Regions from separate parts of the Homo sapiens genome. Here all the other regions are linked to region 1. The links are contacts of gene promoters, found by promoter capture Hi-C in human tissues and cell types (Jung and others, 2019). All regions are on one chromosome and are shown on one strand. The core of a region is centred on a gene start or on the middle of the fragment in contact, and the rest is flanking DNA. Distances in the headings are between cores, read along the strand shown.

Region 1 (3,893 bases), core at 1,028-3,527:
GTACGCAGCTATCTTGGATCCCAAAGTCTATGTGCGGGTAACATGCTATTGTCCACAGGGCCCTTCACGATGTGGCTAGTGCTTACCTTTCCAGTCACCTCTCATCCTACACCTCCACACTGGCACTCCAGTGAACCACAAGCAGGCCATGCATTCTCACCTCTAGCCCTTTGCTCATCTCACTTCGAACCACTCTTCACCTGTCAGATCTCGTTCGTCCTTCAGGTCTTGGCTAAAGCAGCACCTCCTCACTGAAACCTTCTCTGATGAGTCAGCCTGACTTATGCGTACCCTAAGTCCTCCTCTACCAAACCTCCGCAATAGCTTCATGCCATACCGTTGCTATCTCCTTGGCTTAAAAAAAAAGTAAACTCTTTGAGGACAGGGATGTGTATCTTACTCATTTTTGTATTCCCAGCTTGCAGCGCAGTGCCAGACACACAGCTGAAGCTCAATAAATGTTTATTCTCTATAATGAGATGCTGGCTGGGAACGAAAAACGGAACCTGTGGTTGAGTAATGGAAAGTCCAGTACTCAGCTCTTAAAGGATTTCAAAATCATGTCACATGAGGGCAGGAAGGAGTTGGCCAAGATAAATGGAAGAGGAAGGGGAGATGTTCGAAGCAGCAGAAGCAAAGGGCTATAGGTGACACACACCTGCAAGCAGCTTAACAAGACTGGAGCAGCGTTGGGGGATGGGAAAGCAGTTTAGCAACATGAGCCATTCCAAGACTGGACTTTTCTTTATTCAAGTGTTAGGTCACTTCCTCAGGGAAGCCATCCCTGACTAGCTAGCTTTTATGCTTCCCCCCAATTACTGTCCATCCCATGACCCTGTACGTTTCAGAATCGGAAACACCTACCAACCCTTACTGACAATGCCGCCACCGCCACCACCACCACTATTATTAGAAGGTGCCATGAAACAGGGTTCTTTTTCTTCTTATTTTACTGATAGATCACCAGTGCCCACAATAATGCCAGGCACATAACAGGCAAATATTTGTTTTATTCATTCATCCAACAAATATTTATTGAGCATATATAATATGCTAGGCATTGCTCTATATGCTGGGGATATAACAAAACATGACAAAATTTGCTGTCACTGTTAAGTTTACTATGAGCAAATACATTAAATATGCTTAGCCTAGAGAAGAAAAGGTGAGAAGAGGAAGACAAACTAGCAGCTTTCAATGATGTATAGGGCAATTAAATGCAGGGGTGATTCCAAGAGCCTGAAGGAGGAACAGTGAGCTAAGATTACCGAGTAGCTGCTTTCAGCTCAACCTAAGAGTCAGAACTGGGGGAGGACCAAACAGGAGCAACCAGAAGTAGAAAGCTTTCTGTCACTGAAGAAATCTGGCCAGTGGGCAGAGGTGTCAGAGAAAAAAATCTAAGTAGTCAATGAAAAAGGGAGTCTGGGATCCAGAGGTCCCAAACTGACAGCCACAGATATGACTGGTTACAGTTGAACAGGGTTTTGTAAAAACTGAGTTGCCAATGTTTTTAAACGCCAGAATTACTTGCCAATTTTTAAAAAATGGCATCAGTCGCCAGTGTTTAAAAATCAGGAAACTGCACGCACGTGCACACACACACGGTTTGGCTTGTACTTCTCCAACATCATGTACGTTAGTACTGTACTTATAAAATTAGAAGTTTGACTCTATTTCTGACAAATGTTCTAACACCTATATTTACCTTACCGGATTGATTCTTATTGTGCATTAGTTTCTAACCCTGTAACCAAGGAATCGAGAATCTTCTTTCTCAGAAAGTAAACTTATTTAACCTCCTCACTTAAACAAATGGCGGATTATCATTCCCATTTTGCAGATGGAAAAGCAGCTTAGATGGGGAAGGAACGTGCCAGAGACAGCAAATCCAGACACAGCCAGGCTGGGAATCCAAATGTCCCATCTCCCGTGTTCCAACACTGAAGATTCTGAGCACTGCCTACCAAGAGGACAGGAGGGGCTGACTTAGGAAATCAGCACGAGCTTCCAAGTCAGAAGACCCCGGACTGAACCAGTCTGAGGGGACGCGGCTACAGACGAAGGGCGCCAGCCGGAATCAGTGAGTCCCTGGAGGAGGAAGGACCACCCAGAAACTGGCAGAGGAGGATCCTGAGACTTGCTGTGACCCTCGCCCTCCCTGGCGAGCTCGCCCCTTGACTCCAGGCCTCCAAAACCGGCCCAGCAAGACCCCACTACACCCTCGCCCGCCGCGGCTCACTTACCGCCGCTCAACTTCCGGCAACCACAGCTCTCTCTGAGGCGCGCGCCCCGATGACGCAACGCGGTCCTGCCCGCGCTTGCCACTGGGAAGCGGCGCGCGTGCGCAAAGGAGCAGAGGCATGCCGGGGAAATGCGCCCCTAGCACCGAGCTAAGTGGGAGGAACTTGAGTCGTGAGGAGGGCGGGGCATCAGGGGGCGGTGACGCCCCCGGGGGAAGCGATGGAGAGCGTCTCCCTTACCAGATGTCGGAATGTCTACATTCCCTTCAGGCTTTTAAGAAAGTGCCCACGTTCTCTCTTTTGATTTCAGAGGATGACAGGAATGATCACCATGGTCATTCTCCAGGAGAGGCGGCATCAAACGCAGCACAGGGGCCATCAGGGTGGCAGGTGTGGAGAGCCAGGAGATGAGAATTTTAGTAGGAAAAGGCCAGTGAACGTCGACAGTGACCAACCTGCCTTTTCTAAACCAGCCATCATTCTCACAGCTCCTCACTGTCAGTGAGATAAAGTTATTCCCTCTCAATACTTGGTTAGATACTCTGCGCGTGCAAAGCACTGGACAGGTGTTGAAGATACAGCAGTGATTATGACAAGTTTCTCTGTCTGGCCTGTAAGGCCTTTCACAAATTAACTCTGATATACCACTCTAGACTCATAACAACAAGAGCGATGACTGCTATTAATTAACTAGCCACCATGTTTTCAGGGTTTTACATCTCTAATCCTCACAAGAGTCCTGAAACATATCCCCAAGTTATATATGAAAGAACAGAATCTAAGAAAAGTTAGGTGGCTTGCTGAAAGTTAAAGGGCTTTTGGGCCAGGAACGTAATCTGAAGTTTGTTTGATTCTGGCAAATAAGAAAACAAATCCAGACTAATAAGGATACTTATTAGAAAGGATTACTGCAGGCCCGGCGCGGTGGCTCACGCCTGTAATCACAGCACTTTGGGAGGCCGAGGCGGGCGGATCACGAGGTCAGGAGATCGAGACCATCCCGGCTAAAACGGTGAAACCCCGTCTCTACTAAAAATACAAAAAAATTAGCCGGGCGTGGTGGCGGGCGCCTGTAGTCCCAGCTACTTGGGAGGCTGAGGCAGGAGAATGGCGTGAACCCGGGAGGCGGAGCTTGCAGTGAGCCGAGATCCCACCACTGCACTCCAGCCTGGGCGACAGAGCGAGACTCCGTCTCAAAAAAAAAAAAAAAGAAAGGATTACTGCAAGAAGTGAGAGAGGTGGGAGAGAAGGAACCGTGCAATAGCAGAGGGAGACTATTGCAATAGTGAGATCACTCTGACCAAAACATCCGCAGATGTTTCAATGGTTAGGGAAAAAGAGGGTTCCCCCACCCCCCACCCTCCCCAAAGGCAGGTAAACAAGGCTGGAAACAACCGAATATGGGAAGTGGGATGAAGGGGTGGCTTGATCAGATAGTAGATTAGAGAATGTTTTATCTTGAGGCCAACCTATTCTCAGTAGGGGTTGTGTGTGTCAGTCTCTGAGCCCAAGCTAAGCCATCATATCCCCAGTGACCTGCACGTATACATCCAGATGGCTTGCAGCAACTGAAGATCCGCAGAAGTGAAAATAGCCTTAACTGATGACATTCCACCATTGTGATTTGTTTCTGCCCCACCCTAACTGATCAAT
Region 2 (3,893 bases), core at 636-3,135, 550 kb before region 1:
GCATATATGAGGAATCTAGGTTGCAGGCTTTTTATGAGAATCAAATGCCTGATCTGTCACTGTCTCCCATCACCCCCAGAGGGACTGTCTAGTTGCAGGAAAATAATCTCAGGACTCCCACTGATTCTACATTATGGTGAGTTGTATAATTCTTTCATTATATATTACAATGTAATAATAACAAATGAAGTGCACAATAAATGTAATGTGCTTGAATCATCCTGAAACCACTGTCCCCTGGACCCACATCCATGGAAAAATTGTCTTCCACAAAACCTCTTCCTGGTGCCAGAAAGTTTGGGGACTGCTGCCCTAACTCCTTAAATCTGAAAGCAACTTTGTAAGGTTAGTGTGATTAAGCCATTTTACAGTGAAGGACTCAGAAGGTTTAAGTAACTTGACCTCAGTCACCCTGGGACATTGCCAGACTTGAAAGCCAGGGCCTTGCCGCTGTACTGTGCAGCCCTTCACATCTGCATACTTGTAATGAGGTCCCTGACTGCTGGCTGCATGCCTGAATCACAGGGAAGGCCACCTACAGGTGGCTTGCAGGCCTTGGAGTTTGTATCATTTCAAGGTCAAGGAGAAATCCTTTTGGATGCCTATTGTACTGGCAGTTCTAGAGGCATAAAATAAAGTCAGCAGTCAGTTTTAATCCATTGCTGTAGTTTTGTTGAAAACAAATCTCCCAAGGTAAGAAAAATTGATTGTTATGATCAGATGCTGGTTCGTGCTGTGCCCATGATGTTATTCATTTTGTTCTGAAGAAATGAGTCATAAGCCCATTTGCTTCCTATCCCCTGCGGTTGAGCTAGTTCAGCTGCACACCAGTGAGAGAAATTCAGTTCTGCACACATTTATTGATGTATGTGTTCCCTGTGCCAGGCAGTGCACAAGGAGCTAAGGATGCAGACATAAATAAGCCCCGGTCCTTGTTCTCCGAGAGCCTGGAGTGTTTTCTAGGTCCTTTAATCATGGCATGCAATTGTTCTTTTAGGGGGAAGATTTGGATTGTAAAACATAATCCTTGATATTTTAAAATGGTAAATCCTTCTCTCAGAAAGTGACTGTCTAAAATTGAGGAACTTTTTGTTTGTGGAATGTACAGAAAGAAGGAATGACACAAATATTTAGAATTCAACAGTTTTAGAAACTGATCTTTCACTTCAGGGCCAGCCTTGTTAGAGTCAGAATTTGATGACATTTCATCTCTTCAAAGATTAATGGAATCCATTTTTATACGTGTAAGGATTTACACAGTTGGAAGTTAACTCAGCCACCACTCCATTCACATTTGTCACGTCATCATCTGTGTATCCCATAAATGTGTTTTAAAATGCTAGAAAGTAATATGCCAGCATTATAGAAGTGAGGGAAATGGGGGGAAATTATAGAGTAAAATCATCACCTAAAATTTCACTACCCTAATACCGAGAGGCAGTTGGACCTGGGGCATGTTGTCTTTGCACGTCCATCTCCTCATCTGTAAAATTAAGAATAATAGTACTTATTTTATGGAGCTTTGCCATGACCAAATGAGATAGCAAATTAAAGCACACATGCAAAAACCCACAATAAATGTATTTTATTAGAGCAAAAATAAGCATTTTTATATAGTCTCTTTGTCTTGTTTTTCTCATTTTTTATGAAGTTTTTTTTGTTTTGGTATGCTTAAAAAAAAAATTACATAGAGACAGAGTCTCGCTATGTTGCCCAGGCTGGTCTCGAACTCCTGAGCTCAAACATTCCCCCGGCCTTGGCCTCACAAAGTGCTAGGACTATAGATGTGAGCCACCATGCCCAGCCTGTTATACTTTTGTATCTCTTTGTTTCTTACTGCATATTAAATGATCACTTTCCATCTTGTTGTGTGTGATTACTGTCTGTGATAGTAACCATATGCCATCATAGTGCATTCTTTCCCCTGTTGTTGGACATTTGGGATGCTTTCAGTATTATAAGTAGTGCTTCAGTGAGCAATTTTATATATGTAGTATATTTTTACTTCCTGGAAACCTTACGCAAGTTTCTTAATCACTGTCTTTGTTCCCTTGTGTATGAATGGGGATAGAATCCTATCTACCTGAGAGGAGAGCTGTGTGTATTAAATGAAGCAATACCACAACACACTTGGCACAGTGGCTGGTATTTACCAGATGCTCGGTAAACGTTACCTGTGTGTTTCTGTCTTACTCTGTGTTTCTGGCTTATTTCTTTAAGCTTGCTCCAGAGATGGGGTTTCTTGCTTCAGTGCTTTCCAGAAGAATTTTAGCAGTTTATGCAGTCAACAGCAATATGTGAAAGGACTGATTTCTCAACCTCCTCATTAGCAGTGATCCCAGGTTTTAACTATCTAACTCTCTTTCCCTTCAAAATAATAGTGACAAAAACAAGTTCATCCATATTTGAGCAGATTTTTAGGACTGGGACTCGCTTCTGCTCACTCACCTGAACAGTCAGACCCCCTGTACACCAAGATCGGGTTCCAGAGGCTCTTTAGAAGTCTTTTTTTTTTTTTTTTGAGATGGAGTCTTGCTTCATCACCCAGGCTGGAGTGCAGTGGCGCGATCTCGGCTCACTGCAAGCTCTGCCTCCTGGGTTCACGCCATTCTCCTGCGGCCCCCCCCCAAGTAGCTGGGACTACAGGCGCCTGCCACCACGTCTGGCTAATTTTTTTGTATTTTTTAGTAGAGACGGGATTTCACTGTGTTAGCCAGGATGGTCTGGATCTCCTGACCTCGTGATCCGCCTGCCTCGGCTTCCCAAAGTGCTGGGATTACAGGTGTGAGCCACCGCGCCCAGCCTGGAAGTCTGTTTTTCTAAGCTTGCAGTCCCCAGTTGCATTCCACCAAATTGTAGTGTAAGTTGGTCCTTTGAAGCTTAAAACCTAGCATATTTTATTCCTTACTCAATGAAGTACATATTGTTGGTCTTCCTTGTATTTTTACTTTTTCTAAAACAAGCCAACAGTTTGCACTAGGAAAATCCATTGTGGCAAATAATGACCTCTATGATCCCTTCCCCTCTCCAGAAAAAAGAAATTGGCGAGGGTAACCATATGTCCTGGTTTGCTCAGTTTATACTTGTCGTAGTGTGATTATTTATAGCGATCCCTTCACCCTCAGAAGTGACCTAGTTTGGATGATAAATTATATTGTCATCCTAGCCCCAGGGGATTCCTCAGCAGCTGGGTTATCTGCCTACACTTGCCACCTCTCTACTCCCCCTGACAATTTGCTCCCTCTCCAACAAAGGATTCAGCCACATTGCTTTCACCACGCTTGACTCAGAAGGTTCTGCGTGTGTCCAGCCTCTTGTGATTTCACATTAGCCCAGTAGGCATGCACTTAAGTGTGTCCACTTTCCCATTCCTTTCTCCTCCATCTTGCCGATGGTTGTCAGTGGCATTGGCAGGGCACTTTTCATTTGATTCAGAAATGCTTTTGTCTTTCAGAATTAGGTGTTTTTCAGCTCAATTCATCCCATAGGCAAATGTAACATTCCTCATTTCTCATCACTTGCAATTTAAAAAGTTATATCTGTTTTCAATTTCATCTTAAATGCAAACCTCCTCTTACAGAACTTTTAAGCCTTATTTTGCCTTTGTAAAATATGATAAGATTATATTCATCAAGTGCCTCAAAAGCCCTCATAAACAGACAGGTCAACGATGAGGAAGCAATGGCAAGGACAAGTCTACAGTGATGGTGCACAGCTCCTATCTCCTTCATTGGCCACAGGCAGAATTTGGCCCATAAGACAAGACTTTGTAGGTACAGAAGCTTCTGCATTGGAAAAGCTAAAACAAGTTAGCTACTCGCTTGTGATTACCTTGTGTAACTAGGTAACTATAATTTAACTGGCATAAAGGGCTTTGTGATTTGAGAGACCCT
Region 3 (3,893 bases), core at 493-2,992, 520 kb before region 1:
ATCTCTTGAGCCCAGAAGATCGAGGCTCCAGTGAGCTTTGATTATGCCACTGCACTCCAACCTGGGCGACAGAGTAAAAAAAAAAAAAAAAAAATTGAAGAAAGTAAGCTTAGTGTAGACCAAGTAGAAGTCTATGGATTGTGGACTCTGTGAGGGCAGAGACCATAGCTGTTATCTGTACCAGTATCCCTAGCAACTAGTTCAGTGTCTTGCTTATACAGGTGCTCAATAAATATTTGTTCTATGTGTGACCAAATAAATGAAAGATTCTAAATTTTCTGGTAGTAGGAAATATCTCCATATAGATAGAAAAGTGCAAAAATCATAAATCTGATGAATTTCCACAAAGGGAACACCTCATAGACCTAGTGCCCAGGTAAAGAAATACAGTCATTCCAGTCCCCAGTACCCCTCATGCCCGTCACAGGCATTGCTTCTCCGAGAGTAAGCTCCAGCCTGACTCCCAGTGCCACGGTTCTGTTTTACCCATTTTTTAACCATGTATAAGCATGTCCTCTTTTGTGCCTTTCCCTGTTCATTTATAACATAGGGAGATTCATCGTGTTGGGAGTAGCAGTGGTTCATTTCTGCCCAGTGCAGTATTCTGCTGTGTGAATATACCGCAATGTATCCATTCTACTATTGATGGATACTTGGGTTGTTCCCGCTTGGGACTATTAGAAGTAGTGCTGCTGTGAATATTTTTGTACCTGTCTTTTGGTGGGTGGGTGTATGCATTCCTGTCAGGTATGTACTGAGGGGTAGAATACCTGGATGATAAAGCATGTGACTGTTCAGCTTTAGTAGAAACTGCTAAACAATCGTCCACATTTATACTTGCACTAGCAGAGCTTCTGTTGCAGCACCTCCCTGAATGCCTGTTTAGGTCTTTTTCATTTTAGGCACTCTAGTGGGTGACTAGTGGTACCATATTGATCTTTTAATTTACATTTTCCTCATGACTGAGGAAGTTGAGCATTTTTCATTTGTTTATTTGGATATGCTCTTTTGTGAAGCGTCTATTCTAGTCTTCTGCTCATTTTCCTACTGAGTTGTCTCTTTTGCTTACTGAATTCTCTCTGTAGTCGGGGCACAACTCCATTGTTGGATACATGTGATGTCAAAATCCCCCACTCCGTGGCTTGTCATTTCACTCTCTTTTTTTTTTTTTTTTTTTTTTTTTGAGATGGGGCCTTGCTCTGTGGCCAGGCTGGAGTGCAGTGGCGTGATCTCGGCTCATTGCAACCTCCGCTTCCCGGGCTCAAGCGATTCCCCTGTCCCAGCCTCCTAAGTAGCTGGGACTACAGGCACATGCCACCACGCCTGGCTAATTTTTTGTATTTTTAGTAGAGACGGGGTTTCACCATGTTGGCCAGGTTGGTCTTGATCTCCTGACCTCATGGTCTGCCCGCCTCGGCCTCCCTAAGTGTTGGGATTATGGCTGTAAGCCATGTCATTTCACTCTCTTAATGGTGTCTTTTGGTGAAAAGAAGTTCATAATTTCATGTAGTCCAGTTTATCCATTTTGTTTTCTATATGTTTAGCAGTTTTTTGTGTCCTGTTTAGAAAATTTTTGCCTATTCCAAAATCATGAAATTTAAGTTCTCCACCTCTGTTGAAATTATAATATTAAGGCAGAAAAGACTCTTCATTCTGATCTGTTGGTTCTTAGCCTTTTGCAAGTCCAGGATCCCTGTGAAAATCTGACTAGAACTCTGGACGCCCTGCACAGAAGTGCACCTACGCACACACACAGTAGATTTTCCTGCAGTGTTAGGGAGTTCACAGACACTCAGACTTAATCTGTGGACCCCTTGTTAGAGAACCCCTCATCTATTCCAACCCAGTCATTTTACAGATAAGGAAATTGAGGCCCAGGGAAAGGCCACTGTTAGTTTGTGGCCCACCTGGAACTAGAGTCCAGGTCTCTTGACTCCGATTCTAGTGCTCTTTCTAACAGATTTCCCTGCTGCAGTCTTTCTGAAAATGTCTCACTGGCAGAACCATGAAAGGGAGAATGTTTTAGTCAAGGGAGATTTCTGTCCACTAGCAGCAACAAAAAAAAAAAATGGCTACATGGTGACACTCTTCTACTTTATGTATTTACCTTAAATGTTTAAGATCCAGGAACTGCTTTTTGAAGTTGAGCTGGGAATTATCATGGCCCATGCATCCTCCTCTAGCTGTGACTCAGTGCCCTGGGGTTGCTATATGAACCTTTCCATGTATAACTACCTGTATTCGGCTTGGTCTTTTGGTTGGTTCTGGCTGGAATTTTAAAAACCACCTTATATAATAAGCTTCTAGTCTCAATGCTGAAGTGGGTGGGGTTTACCAGAGTGGTTGCTCCAGGGAGAAAATTAAAAGGGGTGGAGGCAGGGAAAGGAACTCTGAGTTTGTTGACTAGGTTATGTTGGTTTGCAAGTAGTCAGCTGGTAGACAAACGAAGCCAGAGTGTCTGGAAGTATTCATTAATGATTTTACTGCTCCCCTGCCACTGTCTGCAGTGGTCTTTTCCAAGGCTCTAAGTGGACTAAGCAGTTTACAGGTAACAGGGCCAGATATTTTCAAGCCATCACTCAAACCCCAGTGCTAGGCATGTCCAGAGCGAAACCTGTTACCTTGTCGGCATGCTCACCAAAGTGCACTGCCAGGGGTGTGCACTTTACACTCATAGCACAGATCACAGTTTGTGTCTCACAGTGAAAAAGACTGTTCATATCTTTGGGCCACACCCTGAAACACAAACTGAATGATCCCACCCTCAACACAAAGGAAGTTGAGTCCATAATCGCATCCACAGATAGGATACTCTTAGATCTGACAAATAACACCCATTTATTTTATTCCCTTTTTCTTCTTTCCCCTAAGCCCCCGGAGAGCCTTTCTCCAGTTTCATCACACACTCCTGACTAAGTAGATGGGGGTGCTAGGGGGCCAGCTCTCCGAATGAGGCACATTTGTCTTGTCATTTCAAAAGCTTTCACAGAGCACCTGCTGTGTTCTGGGTCCTGTACTAGGTGACAGGGCCACCTAGGTGAACAGGGCAAGGTCCCTGTCCTCAGGAAGCTCCCAGTCCAGGCAGAGGCGTGGGTGAATCGGCCCACACGTACTGCACAGTGTGTTGAGTGAGCACAGATGCTGTGGGGCCACCCTGTGGGTCCAGGGAAGCACTTCCTAGAGAAGAAATCCAAACAGGGATTCCAAGTCAACGAGGCAGAAAGTGATGGGAACAGCATTTGTCATAGTCAGACAGGTGCCTTTCACAGTGACATAGAGACAGTGAGGTGGGGTTGGAATTTAGGCCTGAGAGAACGGGGACCCAGTGGCATACAGAGTCTTATCCTTGTCCTACCTTTTTGAAAGAGCTAAATTCAGAGGCTGCCAATATGTTCATAACTCAAAAGGATCACTTATCCCAATAACTTAGGAACCGTTGGCATCCATAGCCCTAAATCGGAAAATGCCGAAATCAGAATCATTTCCCCCTACATTGATCACAGTGACCTTTAATCACCTTCAGCTCCCTGGTCTCCTAGAGCCACGGGTCAGCCCCTCACTGCCCTCCTCCAAAGACAAGTCTGCTCAGAATGTCACTGAAACTCTGAGCATCCACTCAACAAGCCTCCATCTTCTTACTTTCTCATCTTTTCTCTTTTAGGCCTGAAGAAGTCAGTGATTTATAGTTCACTAAAACTGCACAAAATGTGGAAAGGGTGGCTGAGGAAAACATCCTGATTTTGCTTGCTTTTATATATGTTATGTGTAGATGAATAAAGTGTTTGATCCTTTTTGACAGAACAGTGTTTGTTACTTTGACCCATTGCTTGAATTCAAAGATACCCTGGTTTGCATAATACTTGGTTTTTTAAATGTATGCATCAGACATTTAT

What was found. Contacts are between HindIII fragments. The study calls those that stand out against the background at their distance.
Region 2: a contact is called between a fragment that was not itself captured here and the fragment with the promoter of ATG7 in region 1, in 3 of the 25 tissues and cell types used here (lymphoblastoid cells, mesendoderm cells and thymus).
Region 3: a contact is called between a fragment that was not itself captured here and the fragment with the promoter of ATG7 in region 1, in 1 of the 25 tissues and cell types used here (adrenal gland).

What each region holds. Positions count from the first base shown.
Region 1 is chr3:11,270,781-11,274,673 of GRCh38, reverse strand. It overlaps ATG7 (autophagy related 7), which reads right to left and starts at 2,277. Exons shown (of 21, transcript NM_001349232.2): 1 at 2,244-2,277. RefSeq lists enhancers at 1,492-2,081, 2,230-2,359, 2,082-2,673, 2,630-2,679. The HindIII fragment of the contact is 6,326 bases long and covers 643-3,893 here.
Region 2 is chr3:11,817,526-11,821,418 of GRCh38, reverse strand. All of the region lies in intron 4 of TAMM41 (TAM41 mitochondrial translocator assembly and maintenance homolog), which reads left to right. Among named protein-coding and RNA genes, the nearest start is that of TAMM41, 27 kb to the left of the region's middle. The HindIII fragment of the contact is 6,785 bases long and covers 1-3,893 here.
Region 3 is chr3:11,790,350-11,794,242 of GRCh38, reverse strand. TAMM41 (TAM41 mitochondrial translocator assembly and maintenance homolog) reads left to right here. Exons shown (of 8, transcript NM_001284401.2): 8 at 3,662-3,801. The coding sequence ends at 3,738. Among named protein-coding and RNA genes, the nearest start is that of TAMM41, 55 kb to the left of the region's middle. The HindIII fragment of the contact is 3,579 bases long and covers 1-3,531 here.